6 separate regions of the Homo sapiens genome follow, and regions 1, 2, 3, 4 and 6 are each linked to region 5. The links are contacts of gene promoters, found by promoter capture Hi-C in blood cells and fetal thymus (Javierre and others, 2016). All regions are on one chromosome and are shown on one strand. Each heading gives the region's core, a stretch centred on a gene start or on the middle of the fragment in contact. The rest is flanking DNA. Distances are from core to core; before and after follow the strand shown. Region 1 overlaps TGM4 (transglutaminase 4). Region 2 overlaps EXOSC7 (exosome component 7). Region 3 overlaps ZDHHC3 (zDHHC palmitoyltransferase 3). Region 4 overlaps ZDHHC3 (zDHHC palmitoyltransferase 3). Region 5 holds the start of ZNF852 (zinc finger protein 852). Region 6 overlaps TGM4 (transglutaminase 4).

Region 1 (3,953 bases), core at 186-2,685, 370 kb before region 5:
GATTGGGGTCTGGACAAGTGTTCTCCAGGAAGGCAAGTCCCAGCAAGTGGCCTTCCCTTCACACTGCGCACAGGGCCTGGGAACCTGCTGCCTCCAGCAGGGAGGCCCACCTGGCAGACAGACCTACCTTCCCAGGTGCTTCCCCTTCTTGGGCTGAAACCTTGGGGTGGGCCGATGGCTAGCTGGAGCATCTTAGCCCATTTGTGCCACTGTTATGGAATACCTGAGACTGGGTCATTTAGAAAGAATAGAAATTTATTTCTCACAGTTCTGGAGGCTGGGAAGTCCAAGATCAAGGCACTAGCATCTGGTGAGGGCCTCTTGCTGCATTGTAACATAGCAGAAGGCAGAGGGCGAGAGAGGACCAACTCCCTCCTTCAGGTCCCTTTAGAGGGGCACCTCATCTCATTCACAGGGAAGAAGCCCTTATCACCTAATCAACTCTTAAAGGCCCCACCTCTTAGTATCACCACATTGGCAACCCCTGAATTTTAGGGGGAGACATATTCAAACCATAGCATGCTGTCAGGAGCTGCAATCCTGAAAGGCTTCTTCATTTCCCTGGACAGCAGAGCTCCTGCTGTGGGACCCAGAGCCAATCGCAAAGCAATCACAGCTGGAAAAGGGCTTTAACAGTCCCTCCCATGTTCTGACTTATTCCTGCTCCCCCATGGACTGGGCAGGTGGGTGACCTGGGTTCCCAAGGGGTAAAGGTATAGGTTTTGGTACCAGGAAGCAGGAAAGAGCAGTTAAGAAATCCAAATCCTAAATGCAGTCATCTCTGTGGAAGCTTCTTAAGACCTTATCTCCCTGGAATGGTAAACATAGTCCCTCCCTTGGTGGCTAGTGTGCACATTGAGTGCCTGGCACATGCCTGGCACACAGTAGGCACTCGACAAAATGCAGGCCATCATTAATGTTAGGCAGATGGGCATATAGTGGGTTGAATGGTGGTCCCACAGAAGATATCTCCACCTGGAGCCTATGAATGTGACCTTATAGAAATAGGGGATTTTCAGGTGTGATTAAGGATCTTGTGATTATATTATCCTGGATTATCCAGGTAGGACCTAAATCCAAGAATAAGTGTCCTTATAAGAGACATGGAAAGGCAAGGGGAGGGTCATGTGAAGATGGAGGCAGAGACTGGAGTTACACAGCTGCAAGCCACAGAACACCTGGAGCCACCAGAAACCAAGAAAGACAAGGGAAGATTCTCCACTGGAGGCTTCTGCAAGAGCAGGACCCTGCGGACATTTTGATTTTGGATGTCTATCTTCCAGAACGAGAGAATAATAAATTGCTGTTGTTTTAAGCAGCCTCATTTGTGGTCATTTGAATGCCCTAAGAAACCAACATACAGCACATAACAGATGGCCAGTACTGGAGCCTCCTCCCTCACCCTCTCCTGGGCACTGCTCTGTGACCTGAGCACTGCTTAAGGCAGATCTGGGAGGCTGGAGGAATCCTGGAACTACAGGAAGCCACACTGGGGCTGTCTTTAAAAAAATGCCTTTGGAGTCACATACCTGTAATCCCGGTTACTCGGGAGACTGAGGTGGGAGAATCACTTGAGCCCAGGAGTTTGAGGCTGCAGTGAGCTATGATTGCAGCTGTGAATAGCCACAACACGCCAGCCTGGGCAACAAAGTGAGACCTCAACTCTAAAAAAAAAAAAAAAAAAAAAGCGTTTGTATTTTTATTTTGTAGCTATTGCACTTGGATAGATGGTCAAAATTGATATACCAGTTTAATGCTTGCAGTGTCATAAATGCAAGATGACCAGGGAAACCTGCAAAGAAAAAGTGTCAGTGGAATACAATGTCCTTGTTTCTTGCCACCAATGTGTGGGTTGGAGTTTAAATTATTTGAGTATTAAAAAACAAAAGTCTCTGCAATGGATAATTTTTGCTATAACTTTTGCCTATGAAGCCTCTGGAAAAAAGGAGACAACATAAAAGACAAGCAATCTCCAGATGGCGATATACTTTTGGAGTTTTAAAAAGCAAAGTTGCTTTTAAACTAAAATTAGCATTAGTTGCTAATGAGCTCTTGTGAAATTGTCAGCCTTAGAAGCTTATGATTTTCCAGTCTGTATGTATATTTTTGAGTGGGTCAAGTGGGACTCTTGAAATGACAAGAAAAAACGCACTTAAGAGGATCTTGGTGACTTTATAAGAAGAGGAAGACCTGAGCTTACCATGTGATGCCCAGCACCACCTTGGGACTCCTCAGGGAGTCCTCGCTAGGAAGAAGGCCCTCACCAGATGCAGCTCCTCGACCTTGGAGTCTCAGCCTCCATAACTGTAATAAATGAATTTCTTTTCTTTATAAATTACCTGAGTTTTAGGTATTCTTTTATAAGCAACAGAAAATAAACTAATACAATTTCCTTCTCCTTCCTTCTGGTAAGGCAGTTTGATTATTAAATACAGCTTTCCCCAGAAAGGGACTGACCTTTTCTAGGCTGCTCAATGAATAAATGATCAGGACAAAAAATAGTGAGAGGTTATTTAAGATTACTTTGATTTTTTTTTTTTTAATACAGGGCCTTGCTCTGTCACCCAGGCTGGAGTGCCGTGGTGTGAACACGGCTCACTGCAGCCACAACCTCCTGAGCTCAAGGGATCCTCCCACTTCAGCCTCCAGAGTAGCTGGGACTACAGGTGTGCACCATAGTGCACTTCATAGTGGTGATGAAGTCTTACTATGTTGCCCAGGCTGGTCTCAAACTCCTGAATTCAAGCGATCCTCCTGCCTCAGCCTCCAAAAATGTTGGAATTACAGACACGAGCCACCACACCCGAACTACCATTTTGAAAATTTTTGAAAATTCAGGATTTTGTCCTGACCAATTCCAGAATATGATGTGTTATTCTGGTTAGGTTGTATTAAAATATTTTTCTGTAAAAATGCTTTTGTCCCTCTTGCAAACAACCATTCCAGATGAAAGGTCTGGGTGAGAATAAGAGATTACTAAAAACAAAAAGAAAATAAAGTTATGATTGCTGAATGAATGAGATACACAGAGAAAAAACATGTCACAACTAATTGCTAAAGGAATTAAACACATCCTGTGTGACACTGGAGAGGACTCTTGGAAGACCTGCCTAGCTCCCTCAGGACCTCACCCCAGCAGGCTTTTCCCTTTGCTGATTTTTCTTTGTACTTTTTGCCACAAGAAATCACATTCCCCCACCCCCCAGTGTCCATATTGCTGCCTGAGTCTACTGCCACCTGCCAGCAGGCACTCCTGGAGAGTCTCCTTCCCAGAGTGCTTGTGGGAGCACAGCCCCTGCAGAATGCATACCGGTTATGAAAAATTTCAAACATCACCTCTTTCTGTAGAGGTCTGGGATTCCCCCATACTGAGAAAGTAAAATAAACAGTTGTCCTTGGCTCATAGGCAGAAACTGGCTCCTAGTCACAGTTGTCACTGGTTTAGGGGATAAACGCCAATCTTCTTTGGAGTAATTCATTCTCCACCAAAGTTTTATGGCATTCCCACAGATAAAGTCACACTCAAGGTGAGCTTATAGCCCCAAATTTTAAAACACAAAATACACTATTTCAGCAGAAACCACACAAGTATTCGTCCAAGAAATCAGATAATATACAGACTATAAAATAACGTATATAGACTATGGACCAGGCACAGTGGCTCACGCCTATGATCCCAACACTTTGGGAGGCTGAGGCAGGGGGATCCCTTGAGCCCAGGAGTTCAAGATCAGCCTGGGCAACATAGAGAAACCCTGTCTTTAAAAAAAAATTATTTAATTAACTGAGAATGGTGATGTGCACATGCAGTCTCAGCTACTTGGGAGGCTGAGGCAAGAGTATCTCTTGGGCCTGGGAGGTCAAGGCTGCAGTGAGCCATGTTCACACCACTACACTACAGCCTGGGTGACAGGGTGAGACCTTATTTCAAAAAATAATAAATAAAATAAAAT
Region 2 (3,880 bases), core at 594-3,093, 470 kb before region 5:
CATAAAGCATTTAAAGGAGTCCTTCAGTGTAACACATAGGAGTCCCCCCAAAGCAGTTCCCTTCCCCTGCTTCTGGGGGCATGCATTAACTCACTGCATCCTCAAAAACAACCCTGAGAGAGGTTACAGATAAGAATGGAGGCACCTAAGTTTCAATCTCCTGTTTGTGACAGAGTGGAAGGACATTTAAGCACAGACCTACTTTCCCTCACACCCAGGAAGCCCAGTCCTATTACTTCTTAATAGAAACTGACAAGTTGGCGCTACCAATCTGACACATCTGGAAGGACTTTAGACTCAAAGTGGTCCTCTGAGGTTATGTTAACCCCTCATTAACTTGCTTTGACTTGTCTAATACTCCAGATTCCTAAAGGAGAAGTGAGACTAAATTCCTTCCCCTACTAGAAGGTGACTGCCCCCCGCCCTTAGGAAAGGGGCCACATTTGGTCCAGCTTTGCAGGCTCGGGCCCATCACACAGCAGGCAAAAGTAGGTGTTGATCCTTGTTTGACTTTCCAACCCTGTTGAGTAGCCAGGCATTCCTCTGAAAGGATATGGCTCCATAACTCTGCATCCTGCAGTGTCTGGGCATAAGGCTTTCTGTGCCATGGGTCTGTAAACAGAAAGGGCAGAGAGCTAAAAATCAAGAGTCCTGAGGGCTGGCTCCAATTCTGTCATGGCCAGACTGAGCAACCGAATACTGACTGCTCAATCTCATAGTTGAAAACCAGGCTGAGGCCCTGATCTCCCTCTTCCATGCTATACCCCTAAACAATGCTTATGATGAAAGCAAGATCCACAGAAAAGAAATGGAAGCCATCAGCTGGGCTACAACTCCCTTCAACAGCCAAGAACATACAATAAAATGGCTTTCACAGGGTTCCAAGAGCCCTGTGGTAGGGTTCGTCAATTGCCATGGCCAGGTCTGAACCTATGAGGGCCAGTTTAATGTCCAGGTCATAGCCATAGCACTCAGTAGGCTGAACCTGGGAAAGCTTTATTGTGCCTAAAGCCCTGTAAAGGCCACATAACAGTCACCATCCATCCCCAACAGCCAGGACCAGGGGTAGGTGCCTGAACCAAAGGCATATAATCCAAAGGGTGACCAACTCTTTTTGGCGTGAAATACTACCAGACCAAACTGATTCTCTCATTGCAATCTGGTCTCTGATCTGAGAAACACTTGAGAGAAGAAAGGAGTTAAAGAGGAGCTGACAGGTCATGATATGGAGGAGCCCAGAGAGGCCACACGAAAGTAAAGGTATTGGGCAGAGGCAGATTCTACAAAGAAGGGAAGCTGGACAGCAAGTGGCTGCAGAGAAGGGATAAATCTTGGCAGAGAAAAGCAGAGATGTCACTAGAGATAAAGACAGACAGCCACACAGGCCATGAGATAATCCACGGAGCCCATGAGAGGCGGTACCTCAGAGCTGTCTGGGGACTTTCCAGCTCTTGCCACAGATCCCCCTTCTCTTTTTTCTTTTTCTTTCTTTTAAGAGACAGAGTATCTCTCTGTCACCCAGGCTGGAGTGAAATCTCCAACTCCTGGGCTCAAGCGATCCTCTGGCCTCAGCCTCCCAAGCAGCTAGGCCTACAGGCACACACCACCACACACCTAATTTTTTTTAGAGATAGGGTGTTGCTATGTTGCCCAGACTGGATGCCAACTCCTGGCCTCTGGTGATCCTCCCACCTCAGCCTCCCAAAGGGCTGGGATTACAGGTGTGAGCCACTGCACCTGGCCTATCCCTTTTCTTGAGATAATTGAAAAATCCCGATTCCTTCAAATCAAAAGAGGTTTAATTCTCAGGAGCCACAGGCTGAATCTTTAATGAGGTCACTATGAAGGCTGGGGATCTAGTGTGGATGGTTTAAGACAAAGTCACACTTCTGATGGAAAAACAAACTTGAAAGGGAGCCAGCATTTTTTCTGTGTTAACCACAGCCCAAGTGCTTGACATCTCTTATCTCATCATTCCTCATAACCCCATTCTACTTCCAGGTGCATAAGTCCCCATTTTACACAAGGGAAGCAGGTTCAGTTATGCAAGTAAAACCACTTATTGTAAATGGTGAAGGTGCCTGCTCAGTCTGACTCCAAAGCCTCATTCAAAAAGAGGCAGGAAACCATATGACTTCAGCAGGAGAGAGCAGAGATTTCTTTATCTCTGGTCAGTGGCTTACCCATGGGCCAATGTCTGGTGGCTGCCCCCAAATTTCCCAACACTTTATGATAATGTCCATTCTCAGGCCCCAGCCCCAGAGAGTCTGATTCAGAATGTTGGGGTAAAGCCTCAGAATCTGTATTTTGTAGGTGAGTAAAATGCACTTCAAGGCTTCAGAATCCCTGGGCTAAGAGGGAGGTTAGCAATGGCTTCTCATGGATGAGGAAAACACACATCTAGCCCAGTAAGCCAGAAAAGAGGATAAATCCTAGATTCTAAAAATTCTGAAGTCTGCTCCAAGTTCTGCATGGTATGGGCAGAGTAAATCGTTTATGATACTAGTAAGACAAAAGCTATACAAAGAAATGCAATATAGGGTTCTAAAGGAACTTATACTCAATGTGGGAAAAATGCAACCAAAACAATACAGCAGTATATGCCATATACTATTTAAGCTCTAGAAAAACTGGGGAGTGGGAGGTGTCAATTAGAACTTTCTCTTTCCCTTCCAGTTTCCCCACAAGCTTTTAGAGAAAGGGGGAAAGAAAAGGAGGTAGAGGAAGCAAAGATTCTCTCCTGCCTTGATCTCTGGATCCCTACTGAGGAAATGGAAGAAATGACTTTCACTGCAGCAGGAAGGTGGCCTCAGAGTCAAGTATGGGCTTTGCAATCAGACAGGTCTGGATTTAAATCCCAGTGCCACCACTCAATTACTGTGTCACCTTGACAAGCGACTCAACCTGCCCGAGCTCAGTTCCTCATCTATAGAGATAACATTTACCTTCAGAACTGTTGTAAATATTCAATGAAATAAAAATTATAATATGTACCTAATAAGAATGGGATATAGCCTTCAAAGACTGAAAGAGAACCTAACAGAAACCAATCAAATTATTTATCAAAATACCGATTTAATCCACCTTTTTGATTCTCTGTTCTCCCCTGGGAGAGGGGATCTGTTCACCAGGTTGACTCAAATTGTATCACCTAGACTCCCTTTGCTGGCTTCTGGTTGGGTTTGTCCAGTGGAAGATACCAGATCAGAGGGTGCCCCTCACCCCCAATCTAGTGGCCACATTTCTGATAGTGCCTGCATCTATCGAAGACTATGACTTATGTTGGGCAGCCCTTCCTCCACAGTTCCAGCTATCACTGAAATGTGGTAATACTGTTTCCTCCCCTGGCCCCTTTGGAATAGGGGCAGTAGCCACTCCCAGTAGTTGTCTTGGGGCTCCTCAACATCTCTTATTGGTTCCCTGAAACCCCCCCCATACTGCTCTAGAGTCCCATCATAAAAGTCTCCTGAACTACCTGAAGAGGGTTCCATTTTCTGCCAATAACTAAAATGATCCACCCTCCCTTCTCACAAACTGACTTCTCCCAAGTGTGACACATCCTCTAGTGGCCATGTTTGAGCCTAATTATTCTGTCCATCCTTTCCCTCAACCCCCTAAAAGAACTAGAGTTTCTTTCTCTTGGAAACATGAGTTCAGAACTGAACGAGAAGGAATGGTCTCTTTTACAGAGGAACTGGGAAGGAACCACATTTTTTCTACCACTGGCCCAAGAAATAGAAAACCAATCTGTAGGGAGACAAAAACAAAGCAAAGAGGGGGAAAAAAAAAACCAGCAGAGATTAGGATTCCTGGAGAAACACTTGCAGCCTTGTAATCCATACTGTTTTGCTTGAGCCGATGTGTTGGTTACCATTACTAG
Region 3 (3,968 bases), core at 951-3,450, 440 kb before region 5:
TTCTGATAGTGACATAGGTTCTAGACTTGGATTGTCTGGGTCAGAACCCTACTTCTGCCACTTATTAGCTGTGTTACCTTGGGAAGATGCTTGACTTCCCTGCCTTTGTTACCTCATGTTTAAAATGGGGAATACCACAATCTCTACCTCATAGGTTTGTTGTCAGAAGTAACTAACACATACAGTTTTGTCACAAAGCATTTGGAACTATGCCTGGCCTGTAAGTGCTCAATAAATGTATCATTATTCAGCTTGAGTTATTGAATACATTCTTCGTGCCAGGCCCTAAGCAGTTTGCTGAGCTACAAGTTGACAGATGTTGTCTTGTCCTCCAGGAATGTCTTGTGATGTAGGAGAGATGGTGTGTAATTAAATGACGTGTTCCATACTATACATACAAGCTGTGGTAGCACAAAGGCTAAGTAATGGGTTCTGCCTTGGATGTGGCCTGGGGCCATGAGGAAGTAGCAGAGAAGGTGATCCCTGGGTGCATTTTAATTTGGGTGCTAGAAGCAAGGAGGTGCCTGGCAAGTTGGAGCGGGTGAGGGTTTGGTTGGTGCTTAAATGGAGCCCCTGAGGGTAGAAAGGAAAACTTAGAATGTTGCCTTTGGGAAACTCCAAATAGACCACAGGGAGGGACTGTTTACGGAGGGAGGTGGCACTGGATTGGTAGTCCAGAGCTGAGATATGGTGGCCTCAAGAGCCCTGCCCAGGAGCTTGGACTCTGGTCCATGGTCCCTAGGGAGCCAGTGAAGGTTTTAGGCCAGGGGAATAATGTGATCAGATTTCCATTTAAGAAAGTTTACTCTGGAAATTAGTTGGGAGAAAGGATAGAAGTGGGTTGCAGGATTTGAGGGAGAGACTAGAGGCAGGAAGACCTGGGAGATGCTCTAATAGTCTGGGGCAGATGATGATGGGCTGAACTAAGGCATGATGATGGCATGGAGGGGAGAGCATGGGATTCAAGGCACAGTCTGAGGCAGAATTAACCTGGTGGAGTGAATGGGATGTGGGGAAGAGGATTAGAGGAATTGGTGGTGGTTACTGGATTTCTACCCCAGGTGACAGGGTACATGGATATGCCATGGGCCAGGAAAGGGAGACTTGAGGGAACAGTTTGGGGAGAAAGCAGCAGGTTCCGTTTTAGCTGTGCACAGTGCCTTTGGGACAGCCAAATAGAGAGATCTGCAGATTCAAGAGGTCTGAGTTGGAGCTTGTGATTGGAGCATTATCACCGAGTGATGGTGGAAGTAGAGTTGAAGATTGTTCAGGAGAGAGTGCAGAATGAGCAGGGAAGGAAGGAGTCTTGGGGTGAAACCCTGAACCCTGAGGAACACCAGTAGCCTGGATGGGCGGGATTCCAAGAGGAGGGGAGAGGCACAGCCCCACAGACAGGGAGAAGGACAGTGAGGAGACCCCAAGGAAGACAAGGGCTAAGAATTGACTTTTGGATTTGGCCACAGTGAGTTGCTCAGTGACCTGGTGCGAACAGTTCCCTGGTATGGAGGGGACAGGTGCATGAACAGTAAGGGAGAGGTCAGCAGAGACATCAGGTGCACAAGGCTTCAAGCAGCTTAGCTATGAAAGGGCAGGGAGAGCTCAGAGCCTGCTAAGAACACAAGGAGAAAGCTTGGAGGTAATGGTATGGGGGCCCTGAGGGCCAGGATTGACTTGAGCCTCATCTTCCAAGACAGTGGGTACCCGTGAGTCCAGGGACAGTGAGGCAGTGAGATGAGGAATATGAGAAGGATTTAACCCTAGCAGCCTTAATTTGCTCCAAAATAGAAAAGGAAGTGGGCAGGGGTCAAGGAAGGTACTAGAAGTTTGGGCTACCTACTAAGGGGAATGGCTGATGGAGGCACATCACACCCTACCCCACCCCTAAATACACACAGGTGCACATACAAGTACCATTATGTTCCTTCTGCACTGAAAACTCAGAGCTCTGTGCAGAGAATGTGGAAGGAGTTCTGCCATGACTAGAGCAGAAAAGCTTTAACAGCTTCTACACACTTATTTTAAAACAGATTTAAATTGGTTCCACTGTGGGGCCAAATGTATATTTTGGAAGCTTTGTGATCTGCTTTTTATGAGCCTATAGATTTTTTAAAGTGTTTTTACTTTAGTACAAAGAGAAAAGACTTTAAGAATATGTTTCAGAATGTTGGTAGTACTTGTCTTGGGTGATCAAATCAGAGTGAATTTTTCCTTTTCCACTTTTTCATCTGTATTTTCTTTCTTAAAACCATGAACAAGTATTACTTTGGAAATGAGAGAGATAAAGTCAGTGCATTTTGACCTGCTAGGCTTGCAGCAGTGTGGAAGCTTCAAGACATCCCTGTGGAGTGTGTAAGAACGTGGGGTAGGGGGATAGGCATTTCTCAGTAATGCAAGCATGACAGCAGTGACAAAAATGTCTCAGGCCTTCAATCTCCTGCTGTCTGTCCAGGATTGTAAAGAACAAAGTTCCTTACCATGAACTAATAACAAAGAGCTCTGAAATCTGTGGAGATGAGCCCAAAAGAGCATAATATGCATTTTAAAAAAGAATGAAACAAAAAGTTGCCTGAGGCAGAGACTGGAAAGTGTATGCATCAGACTCCTCAGTCTTGGGGGCTGGCCCAGCTGCTCTCTGGCTCTGAGAGGTGGGCTCAGGTGGTTGGATGGGTGGGGCCCTGCCTGAATGGAGATGGGCCTTTTGGGAGATTTATGCAAATGGAGTCTCATTGTGGGGGCACATGTTTAGAAAGGCTGAGCTGCTGAATGATGTCTCTACTCAAGGTCTGGAATAAATAGGCCGTAATGAGAATACCAAACAAGAGCTCTGATTCCCTTTTATGGGTTAGAGGTTTCCTCTTGCAGTCTTTTATACAGGGTCCCCTGGGGCTTACAGTACATTCTGGTGGCTGGGACCTTCTTAAAAACTGGGACTAAACAAAAAAACCACCTGGGCCATAATTTAGGAAAACTCAAGCCTCGTTGCTTCATGTCCTTGGGGGAAAGGATGTCCCTTTGCACTTTTTCTCTTATACACATGACAATAGTAACTTCTAGTTGTGGTTTTCTGGTTTTAGGATCCACACAGTTGCCCAAACTCAATTACTTTTTACATGAAAGAGAACACAGCTGGGGACAATGGCTCACACCCCTGTAATCCCAGCACTTCAGAAGGCCAAGGCAGGAGGATCGCTTGAGTCCAGGAGTTCAAGACCAGCCTGGGCAACATAGTGAGACCCTGTCTCTAAAAAATTTTTGTAATTAGCTGGACATGGTGGCTTGTGCCGGTAGTTCCAGCTACTTGGGCGGCTGAGGTGGGAGGATCACCTAAGCCTGGAAGGTCAAAGCTGCAGTGAGCTGAGATCGTGCTACTGCACTCCAGCCTGGGCAACAGAGCAAGACCCTGTTTCAAAAAAAAAAGAAAAAATAATGAAAAATAAGGCCCTTTGGGCTTGAGACCCTGTCCTCTGCCTGGACCAGTGCCCTTCCCAGGCCCCCTTGGAAATCCACTTATGCCATGTGGTCTGGGCCCTGCCTCACCTTCATGAAACCTTCCAGACCCTGGCCCTTCACAGTGCCTCACTGGTGGCCCGTTGGATGTCTCAAGGTGAGACAATAATGACATTTTGGTTACAAGCCTCAGGAAAGTTGATCATATTCCTACTTTGGGTGGCTCCTCAAGTTTTTGTTTTTGTTTTTGTTTTGCTTGTTTTTAATGGATCATTTCCTCTTTGCAAAAGCCACTTGTTTCTAATAGAATATTTCATAAATATAGTCAAGAAAATTAAAAGTACCTGTGATCCTCCTACATAGGGTCTCACTATGTTGCCCAGGCTGCTCTCAAACTCTTGGCCTCAAGCTATCCTCCCACCTTGGCCTCCCAAGTAGCTAAGATTACAGACATGTACCACCACACATTTTTTTTCTTTTTTCTTATTTATATGTATGTGTATATGTATATAAAATCTGTT
Region 4 (3,899 bases), core at 1,145-3,644, 420 kb before region 5:
CAAATATTTCCTCCCATTCTGTAGGTTGTCTGTTTACTCTGTTGATAGTTTCTGTTGCTATGCAGAAGCTTCTTAGTTTAAGTAGATCCCATTTGTCAATTTTTGCTTTTGTTGCGATTGCTTTTGGTATCTTTGTCATGAAATCTTTGCCCTATGTCCAGGATGGTATTGCCTACATTGTCTTCCAGGGTTTTTATAGTTTTGGGTTTTACATTTAGGTCTTTAATCCATTTTGGGTTGATTTTTGTATATGGTGTAAGGAAGGGGTCCAGCATCAACCTTCTGCATATGGCTGGCCAGTTATCTCCAGTACCATTTATTGAATAGGGAGTCTTTTCCCCATTTACAAGCAGGTTTTTAAAGGGAAAAAGGAGCGGGCTGATACAAAGCTGTTTGACAGGAACTCTCATTGGCTTACAGAAATAACATTGATTAGTGATTGGCTGTACATTGTTGAACTATAGGGTGTGTGTCATTCCATGGCTACTTGGCATCAGTCTAGAGCCCACATAGCTAGTGGCTTCAAGAGGTAATTATTTGCTGGGCACAATGGCTCCTGCCTGTCATCCCAGCACTTTGGGAGGCCAAAGCAGGTGGATTGCTCGAGCTCAGGAGTTTGAGACCCACCTGGGCAACCCCATCTCCATCAAAAATACAAAAAAATTAGCTGGGTGTGGTGGCGTGCACCTGTGGTCCCAGCTGTTCGGGAGGCTGAGGTGGAAGGATTGCTGGAACCCGGGAAGTTGCAGTGAGTCGTGATCGCACCACTGCACTCTAGCCTGGGTGACAGAGGAAGATCCTATCTAACACACACACAAAGAAAGGTAATTATTTATCTCGAAGGGGGGTGTGAGACATGACTGCTGTCACAGGCTGTCTTATTTCAGTGCCTCTCTAGGCCTAATAATTAAATGGGCTCACATTCCTCAGATTAAAAAGTTTTTTTTCTTTCTCATGGCAAATGAGTCTTTCTAAACTTGAGCTTTGGGAAGCAGTTGCTTTCAAGCCCCTAGTAGTCCGGGACGCTTGTTTCATATTATTACTTTGAATTGTCCAAAGGGGGAGCGGGTTTGTGCTTGCTATCAAATAAGCTTGAAACAGGCTCAGCCCAAAAATTATCCCAATAATGTTAGAAATGTGCAAATTAATGAACTGATCTGGTCGACAGTTAAGCTCAAATGACTTTTTTTTTTTTTTTTTTTTTTTGGAGACAGAGTTTTGCTCTTGTTGTCCAGGCTAGGGTGCAGTGGCACGATCTTAGCTTACTGCAACCTCTGCCTTCTGGGTTCAAGTGATTCTCCTGCCTCAGCCTCCCGAGTAGCTGGGATTACAGGCATGCACCACCACACCCAGCTAATTCTTGTATTTTTAGTAGAGATGGGGTTTCGCCATGTTCGTCAGGCTGGTCTTAAACTCCTGACCTCAGATGATCTGCCCATCTCAGCTTCGCAAAGTGCCGGGATTACAGGCCACTGCGCCTGGACTCAAATGACTTTTCTGCTTGCTTGCTTTTTTTTTTTTTTTTTTTGGCTAAATGGATGTCATCTTAGAGCCAAAAAGTTCTTGGAGCTGGGCCTCCTGCTGTCCTTGACCTTGCTCTGAAATAGCCCTCTCTTCTGTCCTTTGTCCTTCCATGGTGGAGGTACCTGGCCCTCCCTGGTAGCACCTCATAGTGCTTCTAGAACTTCCACCCATCCCTTGGTGGTTTGGTCTTTTGGGGAAATAGGTAGCAGCCATTCTCCAAATCTTAGCCCACTTGGTCAAGTTTTTGAAACTGCTTCATTCTTTTTCTCTCGGGAAACCAAATCGTAAGCCCCATTACTTCAGGAGAGCAGGTTCTATCTTAGCCATGTAACCATGTCAGTTCCGTCCTATGTATGTGTTAAGCTAAGGGGCTTTGGAGAATGACTCTGTACCCGTTTGGAATGACTGCCACCCCTGGGGTCCTGACCCTGCCTCCCAAGCCCCACGTGACACACACCCAGCAAAACCCCTGGCAGTGCCCAAGGAAGCCATTTCAGAGGAGTGGAGCAGGAGCCATGGGTTCTGCGTTCCCCCGGGGCCCTCCCAACACCATGGGGATGCCCTAAAGGTCTGACCTGTGGGCTGTTTCAGTGTTTGTAAGCGGTGCATTCGGAAGATGGACCACCACTGTCCCTGGGTCAACAACTGTGTAGGCGAGAACAACCAGAAGTACTTCGTCCTGTTTACAGTAAGTCAGCTTGCAAATTCTGCCCTGCCCCCCATGAAGCAATGGAGCACTTTGTTCCTTTGAAAATTCTCAGCATTCACGATGTTCTTTGCTCAGAATACTGCCTGGCCCTGTAGATCTCTGCCTTCCTGCCAAAGATCTCTCTGGCTCAACAAGTGCCTGTACCTAAGCCCTTCACTTGAGCGTTTAGAAAATTGATTTCAGTTGATTAGCTATGAGCAAGGGCTGTATTCTGGGCTCCCATTCCAAGTGTTGGACCTAAGTAGCTCAAGAAGGCAGTTTGGGTGATGACCTCAAATCCTGAGGTGCAGGTAGGTGGAGTCTACTTAGTGCAAGGACTAGAAGGGCCCTCAGCAGTCAGCACCCTGGCTTTTCAAGGGAGGAGGTACAGCAGGCTTGAACCCCCCGCCCAGGCAGCTCATACTGCCTGGAGCCCAGGTCATGCCTGGTGACGGGCTTGCTTCTGTTCTGGTTCCACGTACTCCCGGAGGTGGCTGCTCACTTGACCCAGGGCTGGTGGGTAGACGGATCTGTAGGGAATCGCTAGCTGGCCCTCTGGTCCCTCCTGGTCAGGCCTTGTCCTGACTAAGTGTTCCTGAGTGGCAAATTCTGAGTGCCCCTGTCCCGGGAGCCCGTGAGGTCAGAGGATTCTCACAACAATGGTGTCTGCACTGGTTTCCTGTTTCAGATGTACATAGCTCTCATTTCCTTGCACGCCCTCATCATGGTGGGATTCCACTTCCTGCATTGCTTTGAAGAAGATTGGACAAGTGAGTATGTGCTGAGGCTTTCCTCCCTGCTCCAGGGTGGGTGTGTGACCTGAGTGGGGGGCGGGGAGGCTCTTTGTTTCCTTCATGGTGCCAGGGGCCAACCTCATTTTATTAAATCTCCTGAAAGCCTATGGACTGAACAGGGAAGAAATGGCAGAGACTGGAATCTCTCTTCATGAAAAAATGCAGCCCCTTAACTTCAGTTCGACAGGTAAAGTCATGAGTTGGACAGACAGACCCTCTGGACTGAGCGTGCCCAGGGAGAATGCAGGCCCCAAGCAAGCACAGAGGCCGGTTCCAATGCGTGGGAGCCATGCTGGGAGAGAAGTTTTGTTTTCTGTCTTTCCATGAGGCACTTAAATCAAAGATCATTTTATTCCAGTCTTGCAGAGATTCATTTTTTACTTTCTGGCTAGGACATGGAGTTTCTTTATTAATTTCTTTGGTTTTTGTGATGGTGTTTTTTAACTGCTTACACTGATAATCGTGAATTTACATTAAGATTGTAGATAATTCTTCCTGCTTTAGAGGCTTCCCACTGAAATGTGCAAATACTGAGGGAGAAACTCCAGCCAGAAGATTGCACAGATCCTGAAGGAAAACAATAGATGCTGGAGGAAAAGAAATAAGAGGCCACCTGCTGGGCTGGCTCTTTCATACTCACAATCTGTGAGACAAACGTCTTGAGCAAGGAACATTGTATTTCCTAAGCTTTTCCCTCCATGGGCCTCCTTTTTTTTATTTCACTGTCTTTAGAACTTTTGCTCTTCCTATACATGCTGACTTCTTCCCACAATTCTGGCATAAGTCAAATGGCAGAGGTCAAGCCAGCAGACAATAGAGATAGGAGAGGAGGGTAGGGGTGAGTGGGTATGTGCAGAACTTGCCATTCTGCATATCTAGGTGAGTCGCCAGCA
Region 5 (4,042 bases), core at 630-3,129:
TCATAGCAACCATTCAGAAAGGGCCCAGTTAACCCCAGTCAGCATAAGGAAGGCCCCCTCTGCTTTAATCCTTAAAAGAAAAGTAACCTGATGTTAATCAATCTATTTTTGCTATTGTTTGGTTCTCTTGTTCCCACCTTTAAAAACCCACTGTTCTGCCACATGCTGTTAGTCTACTTTATAGAAGTTTTTACTATTTTGTACCTGCTTCTCCAACTCATAATGTTACACAGCCTCTCCAGGTTGTAGCCCAAGAAGCAGCCTGCTCTTTCTCGTTCTCTCTCTTTCTTCCTTCTCTCTTTCATTCCTTTTCTCTCTTTCTCACTTCCCTCCCTCCCTTCCTCCCTTCCTTCCTTGGGTCTCGCTCTGTCGCCCAAGCTGGAGTACACTGCCCCAATCATAGCTCACTGCAGCCTCGACCTCCCCGGCCCAAGCGATCCTTCCGCCTCTGCCTCCACAGTAGCTAGGACTACAGGCGTGCACCACCAAGCTCAGCTAATGCTCTTTCTGGTCTGAGTTTTGACCCTCATCCTAACCTGTTGTTCTTTGAGTACACTCTGGGCCTTGATGCGTTGGGTCATTCCTGCTTTCCCAGGTGGTAACCGTTCCTGGGCAGGGATTTTAGTTTTCCTTGGAATCTTGCCCTCCTCACTATCCTGCCCACAACCTTCTACCCCTAGCTTCTGGGATCTCAGCTAGGAGCCATGCTATCCCCAACTCTCCCTCTACAGGGACGTGGGACGGGAGAGCTTTTATGAAGCACAGTAGTGAAAAGACCAAAAGATTTGGATTCAGTGGCTATTCCAGTTACTGACTCTATTTCCTTGGGCAACTCAAATCAATGCATGGCAGCCAGTGTGTTATGAGCTACCGGAAGTATACAGAAAAGTACCAGAAAAAATACAAGCATTATCATCAGTCGCTGTCAATTAAATAACTCTGTTACATTTCAACAGTGTTCGTAACCACTTGACATTGATGTATTTGTGTAATTTCTATTATCTGTTTTTCCCACAAAGCTGTAGCTCCATCCAAAGTGGGCAACTGAGTGTCTTGGTCAGTCATGTGCAGCCTGATGACCCTTGAACAGTTGCAAAAGTGCGCCTAGGGCTTGTAGCATTTACTTAAAAGGGGATAATAAACTCTCACGGCCAGTGCTGGGCTTATTGCCTTGTTTGGGAATTTCTCCATTCAAGGGTTTTATGTTTGGGGATGTGCTGGCCCTATTTTTTTGTTTGTTTGTTTTTTGAGACGGAGTCTGGCTCTGTCTCCCAGGCTGGAGTGCAGTGGCACGATCTCGGCTCACTGCAACCTCCGCCTCCCAGGTTCAAACGATTCTCCTGCCTCAGCCGCCGAAGTAGCTGCGATTACAGGCGCCGCGCCACCACACCCAGCTACTTTTTTTTTATTTTTAGTAGACACGGGGTTTCACCGTGTTAGCCACCGATCTCCTGACCTCGTGATCCGCCCACCTCGGCTTCCCAAAGTTCTGGGATTACAGGCGTGAGCCACCGCGCCAGGCCGCTGGCTCTATTTTCACCGCTAGCTTTGGATCCCTTTCTTCCCTGAAGGAAAAGAGGCCTCCAGGGCAGCCGTGCAGAACCGATGGGAGGGATGTAGGATAATACGCCAAAGCCGATAGAGTTCTGGAGCGCGCCTGGGCATCAGAGCGTGGAAGACAAGTGTCCGCGGAAGGAGGCGAAGGATGCTGGACAAGCCCCGCCGCCCGCCGCCCGCCGCCCGCCGCCCGCCGCCCGCCGCCCGCCGCCAGCGGCCCTGGGCCCAGGGAGAAGCAGAGATGTTGGCCCTCCCAGTTTCCTAGAGAGGCCGCAGAGGGCCCGGGGAGGCGACGCGCGTGCGCAACTGGGGAAGCTGGGAGGTAGGCGCGGGGCGGTCGGCTGCGGTGGCGGCGTTTGGATGATTGTCTCTCGGCGGCGGAGTCGGTGAGCGGCCCGGCGGGGCGCGGGGTGCGGAGCGGGGGCGGCTGTGCGTGCGAGAGTGGCAGGTGAGGCCGGGCCTGGAGGCTGCACCCGGGGCGGGGGTCTGGCCGTGGATCCCGCCCGGCCGCGCCGAGGGCATACCTCTTCGCCCCCCGGGCGTCTGGGGCAGAGAATCTGGAAAATTCCCGGTTTCTTCTGGCTTTATCTTTTCACCCAATTATGCGAATAAAGCGTACTTATTAGAGACAATTAGATAAGTGGAAGAAAAGTGAAAGTAGCCACCGTCCGGAAATCTTAGTCTCCAGGTCTCCTGACATTGAAAACATCTGGCATAGACTTCTCCCTTTTTCTTGTCTTATTTCACTTCCTGGCACCTGTCGCCGTCTAACATAGCATGTATTTGTTTATTGGTTATCTTCCCATAAGCCCCTTGCCAGGGCAGTGCTTTCTGTTTGCTTTATTAACTGCTGTTACCTTAGTGTATGGGAAATAGTAGGTGCTCCTAGAAGGTGTTTGTTAAATTAATGAAAGAAGGAATATCTAAACTGGGAGACAAGAAGAATTGACAGTTTTTAATGTCTTTTTTTTTTTTTTAAATAGCCCATTGCCAAGTTAAGAATGTAAGAGTGACCTTGAGCCTGGAACATTTCCTTGCAGAGTTAGAGCCCTCACAGCCTGTGCTGCTGCATTTAATGCCTTGTGTCTTTCAGTGTTTCAGGCTTCATGTGTACTCCTTTGTTGTGTTTAATCTCTTAAGTCAGTGGCCTTCATTCATTCTCTCAGCCTTCTGTATTTCACACCCCATAGGAGTGGGGAGGGTGGATTGAGATCTTTCTTCCTTACTAAGTGGGGTGTGTGCATCACACCAGCCCTATAGCTGTGGAGTGGATCTGCTGGGTGTGGGGGCTCTTTGCATTGCAGGAGGCTGGATCTTGTTCCCTGTTTCTCCTTTTGCTGTAAGTATACGCTGTACCTCTTGGGGCCTGATGTGGTTGGTATCTGTCCTCAGCGACCTCAAATCATGTGCTATCCCTTCCTTGGATGGCCTTTTAATCTTGGCAGCACAGCCTGGCCACCTGGTGAATAGTGGAACAGTCATGGTGATGCATAAGGATCTAGTATGTTCCTTTTAGGTGCTGTATGGTATTTCATCCTATAAAAATGCTACTTTTATTTAGCCATATTGATGGACAAGTAGGTTAAATCCAGTATTATGTTATTACAGAGAATATTTTAGTAAATACCTGTGTAAATGTCTGAATACCCGTGCAAGTGTTTTTCAGGGCAGATTCTTACAAGTTAAATTCCTGTAGCGTAAGGAATATGTCTTTTTAGTTTTACTGTGGACTTTCAAACTATCCTTCCTGTTGGCTATTACATTTCCACATCTATTAGTGGTTTGTGTTTGGTGTTTTTTTCTTTTGCTTTTCTTTTGGACAGAGATTTTTTTCATATTGATGTATTCAAATATATTCACTCTTTTCATTTTGTTGTCTTAAGAAATTCTTGGTTACACCAGGGTTCTTAGAGTCTTTATGGTTTTTTTCTTTTTTTTTTTTGAGACAGAGTCTCACTCTGTGTCACCCAGGCTGGAGTGCAGTGGCACAATCTTGGATCACTGCAGCCTCTGCCTCCTGGGTTCAAGCAATTCTCTGCCTCAGCCTCCCGAGTATCTGAGATTACAGGCGCCTGCCACCACATCTGGCTTTTTTTTTTTTTAAAGTAGAGATGGGATTTCACCATCTTGGTTAGGTTGGTCTTGAACTCCTGACCTTGTGATCCACCCACCTTGGCCTCCCAAAGAGCTGGGATTACAGGCGTGAGCCACCGCACCCAGCCTTTTAGCTTTGTTTTTTAAGTTTCTTTATTTTTTGTGTGATTTTACTTACTATTTTTATTTGCCTAGCCAATTGTCCCAACACAATTCATTGACTAGTTTAATTTTTCCCACTGACTTGTAATGCTACTGTTACCAACTCTCAAGGGAAGTCGTTTGACTTCAGTGGGTCCTTTACCTGCCTGGTGGTGTTCATGCCAATAAAATGAGACCAAGTTTCGTTAAGCAGTGCAGAAACTTTATTTGTTGATGAAGGAATGGAGAA
Region 6 (3,671 bases), core at 890-3,389, 400 kb before region 5:
TTTGCCAGGGTGTGTATCCAGTTGGGGTGACAGCCTTTGAGAGAGGGGTTGGATGTACTGAACAGACAATAAAGAAGCCAACTCCTCAGAGCACCTTGCCTGGGGAGATCAAAGGATTCCATGGCTCCCCAAGTGACTGCATAAACCGCCAGCACATTTAAGAAGCTTATTGGCATAAAGAAAAAAGGACTCAGGGACCACAGAGTTTTCTTGAAGTAGAGTTTAATTTAAAGCTTATTGATCATTTGAGCAAATCTCTGGAGGGCAGAACAAGAAGGAGCAGGCTTCAGTTAACAGAAGCAGCCTTGAGTTGCCAGGATAGTGGATGGAATACCAAAGAAAGAGTTCACACCAGGGAGGAAGCAATGCCTTCTCCCTGGAGTCTCCCAAGGGGCAGCTTTAGAATAAGGGAAGAGGATTTGCTGGTCACCGTTTGCTGACATGGGTCTCTATGGTGAGTTCAGGCCTGAGGACAGGGTTGTCTGCAAAACCACATGGCCCTTGAGAAATGTCCTTGCAGATTGGGCTTCAAACTGCTTGGAGCACCAGGAGAGGGACTTCCTGGATTTCAGGGATAGAGAGAGGAGAATGGAGGCAATAGGAGGAGAATGCACTTCTATCAGGCCCATCCCAGTGCTGAGAGAGCACTCCAGTTGACAGGTGCCTTCAGGGCTGGTGAACCCATGGCCTGAAGATATGGCAGCTTCTCAAGGGTCGTCAGCAGGTGGCAGCACTGGGCTGCCCATAGTCTGCTGCTCCAGGGAGAGACTCTGTGGCTTCGAAATCTATGGATTTGAATTGAGACAATGGTGGCCCTGATTTTTGAGGCCATGACTCAGGAAAGGGATGGGATTCTGTGGCCTCGGCTGGTGTTTCTAACTGTAAAAGAGGTGACCCTGTGATAGCACAGGACCTGGCCTTGTGGGTCTGGCTGCTTATGGTTGTGTTGGCCTTTTTGACCTGCTGGCTCTTGAATCTGCCCTCATATAAGTCATCAAATTTAATCATCCATAATCTGAAAGCTAAGCACAAGGTAGGAAATGCTGAAATCTCAACTAAGGCTCCACAGCATCAGACAAGGCTACTTGGTGATGAGAACAATCTTCTGAGCATTAATCTCTTTCACTTGTTTGGAACTTAACTTGACGATAAATTTCTTGGGTCCAGTTTTTATTGGGGTGCATTTTATTTGGGATTGGATGGTCTCACCAGGCTGCACCGTCCTGGAAAATTCAAAGACATACGGACATACAATCAGCCAAGGATGTTATGGGAAGAGGGAGAAGATGAGTTGGGTGAGAAGCCAGGAAACTGAGCCTTAGCTCAGCCTCTTTGAAAAGTCCTGGCCATTCCAGGGCATGGCACAGTGTACCTGCACCCTGGGTGCTGCTATCAGTTTTCTCAGATGTAAAGCAAGACGGGTGAACCAGCTGGTTTCCAGAAGCTCTTCCAACTCTGACATTTCACAAATCTTCCCTGGAGTCTTGCCTGACTTTACTACAGATGTTCTTGTTTCATGAGTATTAGCAACAGTCATCTATTACATAAAATCTAAGAGGAACATGTATTTTATGTTGAATCCACATGCAAGGAATTGGCTAGCCCCTCACTACTCAAAGTGTGTTCTGGGGCTTCGCAATACTAGCTGAGCTTGTAGGAAACACAGAATCTGAGGCTCCACCCTAAACCTGCTGAATCAGAATCTACACTGTAACAATACTCCCCAGGTAATTTGTGTGCACATTAAAATGTGATAAATCGTGGTCTAAGGAAAATAGGAGTCTACTCATTTTTACTTGGAAGATTCAGACATCCTGTAAGAAACAGACCATCAGAAACCTCTCAGAAACAAAACATTAGAGTTCAGTAAAGTTTTTTGCTGGATATATCAGCATGCCAAAAATCAATTTCCATATAGTCCAGCAAACAATTAGAAAATACAATGAAAAATATTCCATTCATAAAAGCTATAATATTGATGCATCTTGGAATTAACCCAACTAATAACGTGCAAGTGGTATATAAAGAAAACAATATAGCTTTTCTAAAGGTGATAAAAAAGACTGGAAAAAAATGGGAAAATCTCATATTCCTAGATGGCAAGACACAATATTGTCATTTGGCATAATTCTCCCCCAAATAAATAGGTAAATTCAATGCAGTATCAATCTAAATCCCAGCTGTTTTAAAATTATATGACAAGATGATTCTAAAAGTGCTATAGACAAAAATGGGGGTGGGGTGGGGATTTGCCTAATACATATCAATATGTAGATATGATAATCATATAAAATTATTATAGGACTACAATAATTTAAGTGGTATGATGTTATATTAGAAGAAGACAAATGAAATAGCAAATTAAAGAGTCCAGAGACCCAGATATATATGGGAATTGACAGCATAATAAAGGCAGTGCTACAAAGTACTAGGAAAACCACAGACAAAGTTGGAGCTCCACATCACTCCACACCCAAAAAAAATTCCAGATAAATACCTAATTGTGTAAATAAAGCTGGAAATTCTAGAAAAAGCATAAGAGAATATTTCTATGCACCTAGGATGACATGAAATTCAGTATCCGTAAAGGAAAAGATTGAAAAATTTGACTACATTAAAATTTAAAAGTTCTACTGGTGAAAGACATCTTAGTGTTTAAAAAAATACAAACTGTTCGGCCGGGCATGATGGCCCATGCCTGTAATCCCAGCACTTTGGGAGGCCAAGGCGGGCAGATCACCTGAGGTCAGGAGTTCAAGACCAGGCTGGCCAATATGGGGAAACCCCGTTTCTACTAAAAATACAAAAATTAGCCGGGTGTGGTGGCATATGCCTGTAATCCCAGCTACTCAGGAGGCCAAGGCAGGAGAATCACTTGAACCTGGGGACGGATGGAGATTGCAGTGAGCCAAGATCGTGTCACTGCACTCCAGCCTGGGCAACAAAGTGAGACTCCACCTCAAAATAAATAAGAATCAAATTTAAAAAATTGAATACAAAACTGCTATAAAAAAATTCACAGCACATAACACTCTACTGTGTAAAGACACCATACCAATATGAAAAAATAAATGACTCAGTAGAAAAATGGACAAAAGTTAGGAACAGGCAATTCACAGGAGAGAGTCAATTAATGTAAGAAATATTCAACCTCACAAATAATCAGATGCAAAGTAAAGCAATGAGATTACTTAACCACTAGATTGGCAAGAATCAAAAAGATCTGTCGGTAGAGCATAAATTGATGCAATCTTTTCTCAAAGTAATTTGGCACTAGCAAAATGTATCTACATTTTGACCCTGTGACCCCATACTGGGAATTCACTTCTCAGGAATATGCACACATGTGCAAGATATATGTCCAGAAGCATATTTCTAAGAATACCTCAGGCAGACTCACCCATGGTCAGAGGTCTGTAGTGAGGAGATGCCCAGGCTTTCCAAAGAGAACTTGACGTCAGTCAAAGGGATGGCCAGGGTATTCTTGAAGATACAATTGCAGACAAGTAGCTGGCCAATTCTGCCTGTGTTAGGCAACTGTAGTAGGGTGGGGAGGAGAGATGGGGAGAGAAGATATGCATGAGCCAACCAAGGACCCTCAGGGTTCTTAGGGGCCCCGTCACACTCCATGGCCAACTTCCAGGCAGAAGGAGCCCTTTATGGCCTGCAGG

Evidence for each region. Contacts are between HindIII fragments. The CHiCAGO score rates a contact against its expected background, and 5 or more counts as called.
Region 1: a contact is called between a fragment that was not itself captured here and the fragment with the promoter of ZNF852 in region 5, in 8 of 17 cell types (activated CD4 T cells, naive CD8 T cells, non-activated CD4 T cells and 5 more). The highest score is 7.8, in activated CD4 T cells.
Region 2: a contact is called between a fragment that was not itself captured here and the fragment with the promoter of ZNF852 in region 5, in 2 of 17 cell types (total B cells and non-activated CD4 T cells). The highest score is 5.2, in total B cells.
Region 3: a fragment that was not itself captured here is called in contact with the fragment with the promoter of ZNF852 in region 5 in 4 of 17 cell types (total CD8 T cells, naive CD8 T cells, non-activated CD4 T cells and 1 more); the score reaches 5.8 in total CD8 T cells.
Region 4: a fragment that was not itself captured here is called in contact with the fragment with the promoter of ZNF852 in region 5 in 1 of 17 cell types (total CD4 T cells); the score reaches 6.7 in total CD4 T cells.
Region 6: a fragment that was not itself captured here is called in contact with the fragment with the promoter of ZNF852 in region 5 in 15 of 17 cell types (naive CD8 T cells, total CD4 T cells, activated CD4 T cells and 12 more); the score reaches 17.1 in naive CD8 T cells.

The regions. Positions count from the first base shown.
Region 1 is chr3:44,879,792-44,883,744 of GRCh38, reverse strand. All of the region lies in intron 1 of TGM4 (transglutaminase 4), which reads right to left. Among named protein-coding and RNA genes, the nearest start is that of TGM4, 7.2 kb to the right of the region's middle. The HindIII fragment of the contact is 1,286 bases long and covers 793-2,078 here.
Region 2 is chr3:44,979,499-44,983,378 of GRCh38, reverse strand. The region is part of intron 1 of EXOSC7 (exosome component 7); the gene reads right to left. Among named protein-coding and RNA genes, the nearest start is that of EXOSC7, 5.2 kb to the right of the region's middle. The HindIII fragment of the contact is 1,694 bases long and covers 997-2,690 here.
Region 3 is chr3:44,949,293-44,953,260 of GRCh38, reverse strand. The region is part of intron 2 of ZDHHC3 (zDHHC palmitoyltransferase 3); the gene reads left to right. Among named protein-coding and RNA genes, the nearest start is that of ZDHHC3, 25 kb to the left of the region's middle. The HindIII fragment of the contact is 254 bases long and covers 2,074-2,327 here.
Region 4 is chr3:44,932,201-44,936,099 of GRCh38, reverse strand. It overlaps ZDHHC3 (zDHHC palmitoyltransferase 3), which reads left to right. Exons shown (of 7, transcript NM_001135179.2): 4 at 2,116-2,212; 5 at 2,901-2,982. Among named protein-coding and RNA genes, the nearest start is that of ZDHHC3, 42 kb to the left of the region's middle. RefSeq lists an enhancer at 1,510-2,337. The HindIII fragment of the contact is 2,602 bases long and covers 1,094-3,695 here.
Region 5 is chr3:44,508,454-44,512,495 of GRCh38, reverse strand. It overlaps ZNF852 (zinc finger protein 852), which reads left to right and starts at 1,879. Exons shown (of 4, transcript NM_001423469.1): 1 at 1,879-1,943. RefSeq lists enhancers at 1,425-1,484, 943-1,719, 1,720-2,496 and silencers at 1,705-1,754, 1,885-1,944, 1,955-2,114. The HindIII fragment of the contact is 19,774 bases long and covers 1-4,042 here.
Region 6 is chr3:44,911,136-44,914,806 of GRCh38, reverse strand. It overlaps TGM4 (transglutaminase 4), which reads right to left. Exons shown (of 14, transcript NM_003241.4): 13 at 3,401-3,537; 14 at 1-1,223. The coding sequence ends at 1,082. Among named protein-coding and RNA genes, the nearest start is that of TGM4, 38 kb to the right of the region's middle. The HindIII fragment of the contact is 3,807 bases long and covers 236-3,671 here.